Linked DNA regions of Homo sapiens: regions 1 and 3 are each linked to region 2. Evidence: promoter capture Hi-C in 16 types of primary human blood cells and fetal thymus (Javierre and others, 2016). All regions are on one chromosome and are shown on one strand. Each heading gives the region's core, a stretch centred on a gene start or on the middle of the fragment in contact. The rest is flanking DNA. Distances are from core to core; before and after follow the strand shown. Region 1 overlaps PHLDB1 (pleckstrin homology like domain family B member 1). Region 2 holds the start of ABCG4 (ATP binding cassette subfamily G member 4). Region 3 overlaps ARCN1 (archain 1 coat protein complex I subunit delta).

Region 1 (3,360 bases), core at 673-3,172, 510 kb before region 2:
TCCTTCTGGATTTTTTGAGTTTCTTCCTCCTGCCCTCAATTTTGAGAATCTTAAAAATTCTTTGACCCTTTTTTTTTTTTTTTGGAGCTTTGGCTCTGGCCCCCAAAACCACACTCCCAAATTCTGTGCCAAATTAACTCCACGCTTGCCAACTAGGCCTACACTAACGTCCCTTCTAATCACTGACTTGGGCTTTCCGCATGCCCCTAACTGCCAGTGCCACCCAGGTAGGGCTGAGCCATGCCCGCTTTTGCACTAACTCAGTGGGTGCCTCTGTGCCCCTGGCCTCTCTCCTCTAATGCTGCCTCCTTCTTTTCTTGGTGTGGGACCCCAGAGTTTTTATATGAAAGGAATTGGCAGGAGGATTGGTAGCTCAACTTTACTCAAGGGGGCATTGGCAGGAGGGGTATGAGGGTGGGGGAAATGCTTGGCTGTGGAGCTGCTCAGACTGAAGAGTTCTTTCCATTGGAAATGCCTAGGCTGCTGTCTTAGGCTACTGTCTGAGGACAGCATGAGATAACCCAAGGAAGCTTCCTGGCAGCTTCCTGCACAGCAGAGTAGGCTGTCTTCCACCTATTCCCCTGCCTGCCCTCTGGAGCCAAGGAGTAAGGAGGCCCAGTTGTGGGCGTGGTCTTGGAGGGCTTGAACAGGACCTCTCTGCCAACATAGTGGCTACCCTTCCTAGCTTTCCCTTGGGGCTTCCCAAATTCAGATACCCATCAGAGGTTGGTAATGGGTAGCCCCTACTCTTCTCCTCACTCCTGAGCCACCTATAACACAGGGTATTTTAAAGGCTGAGTCCAAGGATGAGGAAGCACCTAGACCCCAGGAACTGGCCTGATTAGGTCCTCCTCTCTGGGGATGGGTAGATGAGTTGGGTAGAGGGATGGGAGTGACTGGGTTCAGCATAGGGCCTCACTCCCAGGGATAAAGCTCAGCATTTCAGAAGGAACCTGCCTAACCTCATTTCCCACTGACCTGGAGTTTTTTGGAGGCCTAGACTTCGCTTTCTCTGTGGGGAAGAGAGGTTATTCGAGGCTGTGGTAGTGATGGTGGTGGTGGTGATGGTGGTAGTGATGGCAATGGTGTGGAGGGTTCACTTGGCTTCCCTCCCCTGCCCTCAGCCCATGGCTCCACTCTGGCTTTGGAATCAGTAACCACAGTTTCTCCTCTGCCTGTCCTTTGAGGGGTGACTCACCAAACCCTCCCCTCGTCCCCCTTCCCACCCTCAGAGGTGTCATCTCACCCCAGAAAGAACCGTCCACCCCCTCTGTACCCACTCCTGGGACTCATTACCATGGAAACAGCCCGAACTAATTGCAACCCTCATCCCTGAAGTTCAGCCTGCAGGGCCAACACCCCACCCCGACCCTGGGCAGGAGGGGAGGGAGGCCAAGGGTGTTGGGTTGGGGTCCCCTCTGCCACACTGCTTTAACATCCTCAGCTCCTGATTGACGCCCAACCCTGGATTTAACCCTCACCATCACTACCCTTTTTCCCTGGGTTAAATTTTGGTCTCTGGGCTGTAGTAGAAGGGGAGGGATGAGAGCTGGAGGCTCTGTGATGCAGAACCAGCCTTGACTGGTTTGGAGAGAAAACAGAGGGCCTTTTCTCGAGACCTACCCAACAATTTCAGTTCAAGGGACTTCAGGAGACCAAAATCTGTGCCCTGCCCCCACACCTCTGCCTGTGTTACCTCATCCCCTGCACCTCTGACTGCCGTGTTACCTTCAGCTCCTGGCCTTGGGCCCTCTCCCTCTTCACCTCTTTCCCTCCTCACTTTCCCTTTCTGCCCTTTTCTTTCTCCTCGCCTGGTTATTCTCCTCTTTGATTCTAGCCTTTTTTTCTCCTCTCTCAACCCCCATTGCCGACCCCCATTCTGTCCCGCCCTGGCCGCCCTCCCGCGCTCCCCTCCCGCCGCTGCCGGGCCGGAGTTGAGGAGTGTGTGTTCTGTTTCTCCCCTGTGCCCCGCCCTCTCCCTCGCCCTCCCGCCGACCAGGAGAGGGCGGAGCTGGCCGCGGGACGGAGGCACCTGGAGGCCCGCCAGGCGCTCTACGCCGAGCTCCAGACGCAGCTCGATAACTGCCCCGAGTCAGTGCGGGAACAGTTACAGGAGCAGCTGAGAAGGGTCAGTTCCACCGCCCCCCCTCCCCCGGCCCCGCGGGCCACGCCCCAGAAGGAAGAGAGGAGAGCGGTGGGACGGGACCACCTGGCCTCTGCAGTACCTGCCGGACACCAGGGTCGGTGCTGCGGTTTGGAGGGAACCGGGAAGGTTGGGGAATCAGCGCTCCAGGCCATGATGCCCGCAAAAGGGCAAGGCCAAGTACAGCGGGAGCTGGGGGGAGGCAGGTTTCTTACCCAATTTCCCCGGGTCCAGCCCCATACAACGCATGCCCCTGTGGCCTGGTCTTCCAGGCCCAGAGTGGCATTGCAAGCACCACCCAACCCCCTTTGTCACTGTCGTTGAAGGAGGCAGAGGCCCTGGAGACTGAGACAAAGCTCTTTGAGGACTTGGAGTTCCAGCAGTTGGAGCGGGAGAGCCGCGTGGAGGAGGAGCGCGAGCTGGCCGGCCAGGGGCTGCTCCGGAGCAAGGCTGAGCTGCTCCGCAGCATCGCCAAGAGGAAGGTGTGCCCCACCTCGTTCCCTGCTGCGTGCTGTTGGAGGCCAGTGACCTGGGTTTGAATCCCAATGACCTCACAAAAGTTAACTTCGTCTTTTGTGCCTGGATTTCCTTGTCTGTAAAATGAGAATTACAACAGGTTGTTGTGAGAATTAAACAAGATGTAAAGACAGAATAGGATGTGATTGTAATGAGCACTCGGTGAAGAATAACTATTATTAAGCTCTGACTCCCCTCAGTCTTCCAGTGGAAAGTGGATTCTGCTCCCATTCAGAGCTTGGCACTGGCCCAGCAGGAAGGTGAAAGATGGAGGAGGAGGAGGCTTGCCCCTGTGCTTGCAGAGCTCTTGTCTGGTGGAAGTGCTGGGACACACAGAAAGATTTGAGATCTGGATATTAGAGCCAGCTAGGGGCCCTAGAAAGGGCATTCATTTCGGTTCCAGCCATGGCTCAGCCCTGCCTTGGCTGAGCTATAAAACAAGGGTTATTGGGTATTGTGGCCTGGCCAGCTGTGACACGCTAGCTAGATACTGTGATCACCTGCTCTTGATCTCAGCCAGACCACAGGATGGTGGCACAGGTGACTGTGTATGTTTGGGGAGTAAAGCTGGGAGGAGGTATGTGTTAGTAAGGGTTGGGAAGAGGTGAGGGAGGGATTGGAGAGGATGGCTCAAGCAGCTTCCACCCTTATGGCTGAAGCTTGTGGCCATGCACATGCACACATGCATGTACATTTTGCTT
Region 2 (3,600 bases), core at 648-3,147:
GGGAGGCTGAGGCGGGAGGATCACTTGAGGTCAGGAATTCGAGACCAGCCTGGTCAACATGGTGAAACCCCATCTCTACAAAAAATACAAAAATTAGCCGGGTGTGGTGGTGTGTGCCTGTAGTTCCAGCTACTCAGGAGGCCGAGGCAGGAGAATCGTTTCAACCTGGGAGGCAGAGGCTGCAGTGAGCTGAGATCTCACCACTGCTCTCCAGCCTGGGTGACAGAACGAGACTATATCAGAAAGAAAGAAAGAAGCAAAGAAAGAGAGAAAGAGAGAGAGAGAAAGAAAGAAAGAGAAAGAAAGAAAGGAAAGAAAGAAAGAAAGAAAGAAAGAAAGAAAGAAAGAAAGAAAGAAAGAAAGAAAGAAAGTTGTGTGCCAAAGAATAAAGCTGGGTGGCATTAAGACATGGAGGTTATCTCAGGAGGATGAAGAGCCTGTCTAGAAAATAGAGGGAGACAGTCCATTTGGGAATAAGGTTCTGAGAGGCCCAATTAGCAGGGTAAAATCAGGGACTTTGGGATTCAAGCCCTGCTTTGCCACCAACTATTGCTTAACCTCCCTATGCCTCAGTTTTTCATCTCTAAAGGGGGGTTGTAAAACCTGTCGCATAGGGATATTGTGAAGATTAAATAACATAATGCCTGGTACAAAGTAGTTAATAAATGCAACTGTTGGGGGATGGGGAGGTCTATAGTAGCTGATGAGAAGTTGACTTGGAGAATGGAGGGTCCATCTGGAGAACAGGAGGTTGGTCCTGAGGAATGGTGGTGATGTGGGGCATGGAGTTGGGGGAAGATAGGAAAGACTGGATCCAAACCCCACACAAACCTCAGAGTAACAGGGCGGGGCCTAGAGAAATCCTCCAGGGATCGCCAGCTTTTAGGGCTGTGGAGAGGTGGTTGGGAGGGGGGCCAGCAGGGGAGAGGTTTGACTGCTAGTAACCCTCAACTGCTGCAGTAAGGAGAAGCCTCAGCGGTGGCAGTCACACCAGCAGCCTCAGAGCCTTCCCTCCCCATCGTCTCTGCTGTGTGACAGGTGGGAACTTAAAAGCTCAGATCACGTGTCTTGGCTAGCTAACCTACTTACCCCTTGAAGACATAGTGGCTGGGACAGGCAAGGGCCAAGAGGAATTGGCTGAGAAAGGGGCAGAGCAGGGGAAAGCCCCAAGTGTGTTCTGGGGACCTACATTTGAAGGCTTTGGGGGCAAGGGAGAGAATGTGCAGGTGCATGAGATGCCCAGGGCATGTCTGCGAGCCCTGTGCATGCCCTGGCACACAGGTCCCTCCAGGATATGGCATGTGCCTGTCTTGAAGGCCTGTATCTGGCTAGGTGACTACAGTCGGAGCAGGCTGAGCACTGGGTTCCAGTTTAACTCTGGAGCTACTGCAGGCTCTCCCAAAGCTGCTGCCATTTTCCCTTCTTTATTAGTGTCCTAACTCAGAGAAAGTGTGAATGGGGAGACAGGAGGATGTTCCAATGTCCCAAGGCTCCTGCGTTTTTGAAAGCCTTTGCACCTCGTTTGGGGATTCCTGGAGGGAGGCCTGCGCTCATTCATGGGCTGGAACTGAGGGAAATTGTTGGGGGACTGGTATCGTGTGTGAAGACAGACTGACACCTTTACAATCCCTCCACTTTCCCCCACCCCCAACACCCTTGCCTAATCTGTCTTCCAGGGACTTGTCCCCACGGAGTGACTCCAGCTCTCCTTTCCTCACTGCCTCCAAGTCGGCCCTTTGCCATCAACCCCCAGTCCTGAGTTCACCCCTGCACCTCCTCCGGCCCCCGCGCCGCAAGCGCTGCTCTCTCCTTTGCCGTCCTCGCCCCCCGCGGGCTGCCGGGCGGCGCGGGCCCTTTAAGAACGGCGGGACCGGCGAGCAGTAGCTGGTAGGAGAGCGCAGTCGCCCCGCGGGCTCGGAGGACACAGCGTCCGGGACCAGGCTCTGGGAAGCGGGTGTGCACAGCCCAGCAGAGTCAGGGCGCGACCCCAACCGCCTCTCACCATCCTTGCCGTCTCCTCCGAGCCGAGGGCCGGCCCTCCTGCCTCGCCTGCCCCGCCCCGGCCCCGCCCCGGCCCGGGCCGCCGGGACCGGGAGCCGGGACGCGGGTGCCGCAGCCCGAGGCAGGTAAGGGGAGCCCCGGCTCTCCGTCCCCGGTCCGTGGCAGCGCTGAGCATCCCGGCCCCGCACCGGCCCGGGGGCGCGTCAAGGTGACTAGGCATGCGGGAGATGGGGCGGGGGCTTGAGCTGCCGTGGGGCGCTTAGTTTTGAGTCCGGGTGGTGCGCCTGGCTTTGGGGACAGCCCGGGGCACGCGGGCCCGGGGGTGCCGGCGGGAGGGGCCGGCCTGGGCGTCGCGCCAAGGGATGGGGAGTGGGACGCAGCCGGAGGCCTGAAGCCTCCTCCTCTCCGCCTTCCCCTGGTCCGCCCTGCACTCACCCTGCTACCCCGACCTCCTAGAGCGGGCAGCCTCTGCCGGCTGCCTCTTCTCCCCCGCCCCCTATTCCTTCAGTCCCCAGGGGCTGCTGGCCTGCGGGGTAAGGAGATTAGAGAAGCCGCCGGGAGGAAGGAGCGATTGAGGGCTTCAAGGGGACGGGCTGGGGTCAGGCTGGAGCTGGGCTGCCCGGGACTGAGCGTCTCCGTGCGGAGAGTGGGGGGCGGGGGCAGAGTGCGGGGCTAACAGTCGCGGATCTGCCCCGAGAAGGAGGTGGGCAGTGGGGGCGGGGGAAGCATTAGAACGCCAGGGAGCTTTGAGCCGGGCTCGGTGGTCTGCCCCAAACTGAGCAGGCCCTCCCCTTGCAGGTCGGCGGCGTGATGGCGGAGAAGGCGCTGGAGGCCGTGGGCTGTGGACTAGGGCCGGGGGCTGTGGCCATGGCCGTGACGCTGGAGGACGGGGCGGAACCCCCTGTGCTGACCACGCACCTGAAGAAGGTGGAGAACCACATCACTGAAGCCCAGCGCTTCTCCCACCTACCCAAGCGCTCAGCCGTGGACATCGAGTTCGTGGAGCTGTCCTATTCCGTGCGGGAGGGGCCCTGCTGGCGCAAAAGGGGTAGGGAACAGCCTGGTAGGGGGAGTCCGTGGGCCCTCTCTGAGTTGCCTCTCCAGAAGCATGAGGCCTGGGTGTCCCATGTTCGGAAAGTCCTGCACCAGTGGGCTCTGTGGAAACACTAAAATCTGGGCCCCAGCCCGTTGCTCACTGTGCACTCTTGGGGTGTCAGGATCTACGCTCCCCCACACCTGTGAGCACCATGGGATACTAGGTGCAATTGGTTATTGAAGCTGTATCTTCTAAAGAGATCCCGTGACCTCTGGTCCTTGAGTGGTCCTTGATGAGTTTTCCTTCTTTTGTTTATGGAGGATTCCTACCTGTGAGGGCTGGTATGAAAAAGTAGGGGGCTGTGTCTGCAGGGTTGAGCAATACCCTTGGACCTAATTATAAAGACGTTCTCATTCCTGTCATCTTATTCCATTCTTACCACAGTGCTCAGAAGCAGGGAGGGTGGCGGTTTGGCAGGATAGATGTCATCTCCATGTTACTAATAAGGAAACTGAGGCCCAGGGAAGTTGAGTAACTTGACCAATGTCACACAGCTAGTAAGT
Region 3 (3,387 bases), core at 865-3,364, 570 kb before region 2:
GATGGGGTTTCACCATGTTGGTCAGGCTGGTCTCGAACTCCTGACCTCAAGTAATCCACTCGCTTTGGCCTCCCAAAGTGCTGAGTTTACAGGTGTGAGCCACTGTGCCCGTGAAAGTCAGTATTCTATTACTTGTCATGTCAGCTGGTCGTGGTAGTTCACGCCTATAATCCCAGCACTTTGGGAGGCCAAGGCAGGAGGATCGCTTGAACCCAGGAGTTCAAGACCAGCCTGGGAAACATAGCGAGATACTGTCTCTACTAAAAGCTTTTTAAAAATTAGCGAGGCTTGGTGGCACACACTTGTAGTCCCAGCCACTCAGGATTTCTTGAGCCCAGGAGTTTGAGGTTGTAGTGAGCTGTGGTCTTGCCATTGCACTCCGGCATGGGTGACAGAGTGAGACCCTGTCTTAAAAATAATACTACTACTAGTCATGTCACTAAATAAATATGTCATTCTATGGAACATTTCCTGAGATGCTGAGAAAACAGATGTGAAGAAATAATTAGTACTTACTTATGCATATGTTCCTGGCAGGTGCTGTTGGCAGCAGCGGTCTGCACAAAAGCAGGAAAGGCTATTGTTTCTCGACAGTTTGTGGAAATGACCCGAACTCGGATTGAGGGCTTATTAGCAGCTTTTCCAAAGCTCATGAACACTGGAAAACAACATACGTTTGTTGAAACAGAGAGTGTAAGATATGTCTACCAGCCTATGGAGAAACTGTATATGGTACTGATCACTACCAAAAACAGCAACATTTTAGAAGATTTGGAGACCCTAAGGCTCTTCTCAAGAGTGGTAAGAGTACTGCTATAATACTGGGTTCCACTTTTTGTTTTACATTTTATGTGAAACTAGTTTTTCCTCCAAAGCAGCTGATGCTAACCAGTTTGCAGGTTCCTACTCCGCACCCCAGCGACTTATTGCTGCAGCACCTTGTTTATTCAGCAGACATTTATTGGGTGTCCTCTTAGACTATAGATGTCTCAAAAGAATATGGGAACTACTGTTTCATTTCCCAGTTCTTAAGCAGTTGTTCTAATCTGCCGTTCTAGTTCTGACACTTGTTTGGCTATGCTTTTTAGGTAATGTTTTTTAGGTAAGACTTACTGATCCAGAGACAGACACACACACACACACCCCTCTTCTAAGACTTTATGCCAAAGTCTTGCTTAAAATGAAGACTTAGGTAAGACTTACTGATCCAGAGACAGACAGACAGACAGACACACACACACACACACACACACACACACCTTTTAAGACTTTATGCCAAAGTCTTGCTTAAAATGAAGGCTAAGGCCAGGTGCGGTAGCATGTGCCTGTAGTCCAAGCTACTCAGGAGGCTGAGGCAGAAGGATTGCTTGAGGCCAGGAGTTCAAGTGCACAGGCATTATACTTTAGTGTGGGCAACACAGCAAGACCCTGATTCTTTTTTTTTTAAAGACGGAGTCTCGCTCTTGCCCTGGCTGGAGTGCAGTGGTGCAATGGTGCAATCTCGGCTCACTGCAACCTCCACCTCCCAGGTTCAAGCAATTTTCTGGCCTCAGCCTCCCGAGTAGTTGAGATTACAGATGTGCATCGCCATGCCTGGCTAATTTTTGTACGGGGTTTCACCATGTTGGCCAGGCTGGTCTCGAACTCCTGACCTCAGGTGATCTGCCTATCTTGGCGTCCCGAAGTGCTGGGATTACAGGCATGAGCCGCTGCACCCGGCTGTAAGAATCAGGGTCTTGGGCGTGGTGGCTCACGCTTGTAATCCCAGCACTTTGGGAGGCTGAGGCGGGTGGATCACCTGAGGTCAGAAGTTTGAGACCAGCCTGACCAACGTGGTGAAACCTCGTCTCTACTCAAAATACAAAAAAATTAGCTGGGCATGGTGGCGGGCACCCATAATCCTACTACTCAGGAGGCTGAGGCATGAGAATTGCGTGAACCCAGGAGGTGGGGGTTGCAGTGAGCCGAGATCGTGCCACTGCACTCCAGACCGGGTGACAGAGTTAGACTTTGTCTTAAAAAAAAAAAAAAAAAAAAAATCAGGGAGTTAGGCTGGGCGCAGTGGCTCACGCCTGTAATCCCAGCAGTTTGGGAGACTGAGGCAAGCGGATCACCTGAGGTCAGGAGTTCAACACCAGCCTGGCCAACATGGTGAAACCCCGTCTCTACTAAAAATACAAAAATTAGCTGGGCGTGGTGGTACACACCTGTAGTCCCAGCTACTCCGGAAGCTGAGGCAGGAGAATCACTTAAACCCAGGAGATGGAGGTTGCAGTGAGCCGAGATGGCACCACTGCACTCCAGCGTGGGCAGCAGAGCGAGACTCTGTCCCAAAAAATAAAATAAAGACTAGAAGTAGCTAATAAAGGGATTTAGGTTATTGAAATTTATGTACTCTAAAGGATAAGACTTGGAAATATAGCTGCTGATAAATTCTAAATCTTTCTTTTTTATTGGTGTCCACGCTTAGATCCCTGAATATTGCCGAGCCTTAGAAGAGAATGAAATATCTGAGCACTGTTTTGATTTGATTTTTGCTTTTGATGAAATTGTCGCACTGGGATACCGGGAGAATGTTAACTTGGCACAGATCAGAACCTTCACAGAAATGGATTCTCATGAGGAGAAGGTGTTCAGAGCCGTCAGAGAGGTAAATAGGATCTTCTCTGGGACTACCTGTTTGTATGTCTTTCTCTTAGGCTTCACTAATCTCATTTTCCTATTTTTACTTACTAATGTAGACTGTATTCAAAACTATGTCCAGGCTAGGCACAGTGGCTCATGTCTGTAATCTCAGCACTTTGGGAGGCGGAAGTGGGAGTATCACTTGAGTCCAGGAGTTCAAGACCAGACTGGACAGCGTAGTGAGACCCTGTCTCTATAAAAAGTAAAAAAAAAATTAGCCAGGCATGGTAGCACGTGCATGTGGGTCCCAGCTACTTGGGAGGCTGAGATGGGAGGATCACTTGAGCCCAGGAAGTTGAGGCTGCAGTGAGCTGTGATTGTGCCACTTGCACTCCAGCCTGGGTCACAGAGTGAGACCCTGTCTCAACAAAAACCCAAAAAAAAAAGCTACATTAATGTATGTCTTTTTCTGTAGACTCAAGAACGTGAAGCTAAGGCTGAGATGCGTCGTAAAGCAAAGGAATTACAACAGGCCCGAAGAGATGCAGAGAGACAGGGCAAAAAAGCACCAGGATTTGGCGGATTTGGCAGCTCTGCAGTATCTGGAGGCAGCACAGCTGCCATGATCACAGAGACCATCATTGAAACTGATAAACCAAAAGTGGCACCTGCACCAGCCAGGTATAATCCAGTGTACTTTAGAATACCAGGTGAAGGGTGTATATGTGTCTATCTTTGAAGTCATAATCTGATTTCTTGGAA

What was found. Contacts are between HindIII fragments. The CHiCAGO score rates a contact against its expected background, and 5 or more counts as called.
Region 1: a contact is called between a fragment that was not itself captured here and the fragment with the promoter of ABCG4 in region 2, in 1 of 17 cell types (naive CD8 T cells). The highest score is 5.4, in naive CD8 T cells.
Region 3: a contact is called between a fragment that was not itself captured here and the fragment with the promoter of ABCG4 in region 2, in 1 of 17 cell types (non-activated CD4 T cells). The highest score is 5.6, in non-activated CD4 T cells.

What each region holds. Positions count from the first base shown.
Region 1 is chr11:118,632,924-118,636,283 of GRCh38, forward strand. PHLDB1 (pleckstrin homology like domain family B member 1) reads left to right here. Exons shown (of 23, transcript NM_001144758.3): 10 at 2,470-2,625. Among named protein-coding and RNA genes, the nearest start is that of MIR6716, 9.4 kb to the right of the region's middle. RefSeq lists an enhancer at 1,947-2,617. The HindIII fragment of the contact is 2,788 bases long and covers 529-3,316 here.
Region 2 is chr11:119,147,155-119,150,754 of GRCh38, forward strand. ABCG4 (ATP binding cassette subfamily G member 4) reads left to right here and starts at 1,898. Exons shown (of 15, transcript NM_022169.5): 1 at 1,898-2,209; 2 at 2,800-3,049. The coding sequence starts at 2,812. RefSeq lists an enhancer at 1,280-1,339 and a silencer at 1,997-2,076. The HindIII fragment of the contact is 14,272 bases long and covers 1-3,600 here.
Region 3 is chr11:118,580,709-118,584,095 of GRCh38, forward strand. It overlaps ARCN1 (archain 1 coat protein complex I subunit delta), which reads left to right. Exons shown (of 10, transcript NM_001655.5): 2 at 538-801; 3 at 2,471-2,650; 4 at 3,101-3,306. Among named protein-coding and RNA genes, the nearest start is that of ARCN1, 10 kb to the left of the region's middle. The HindIII fragment of the contact is 3,699 bases long and covers 266-3,387 here.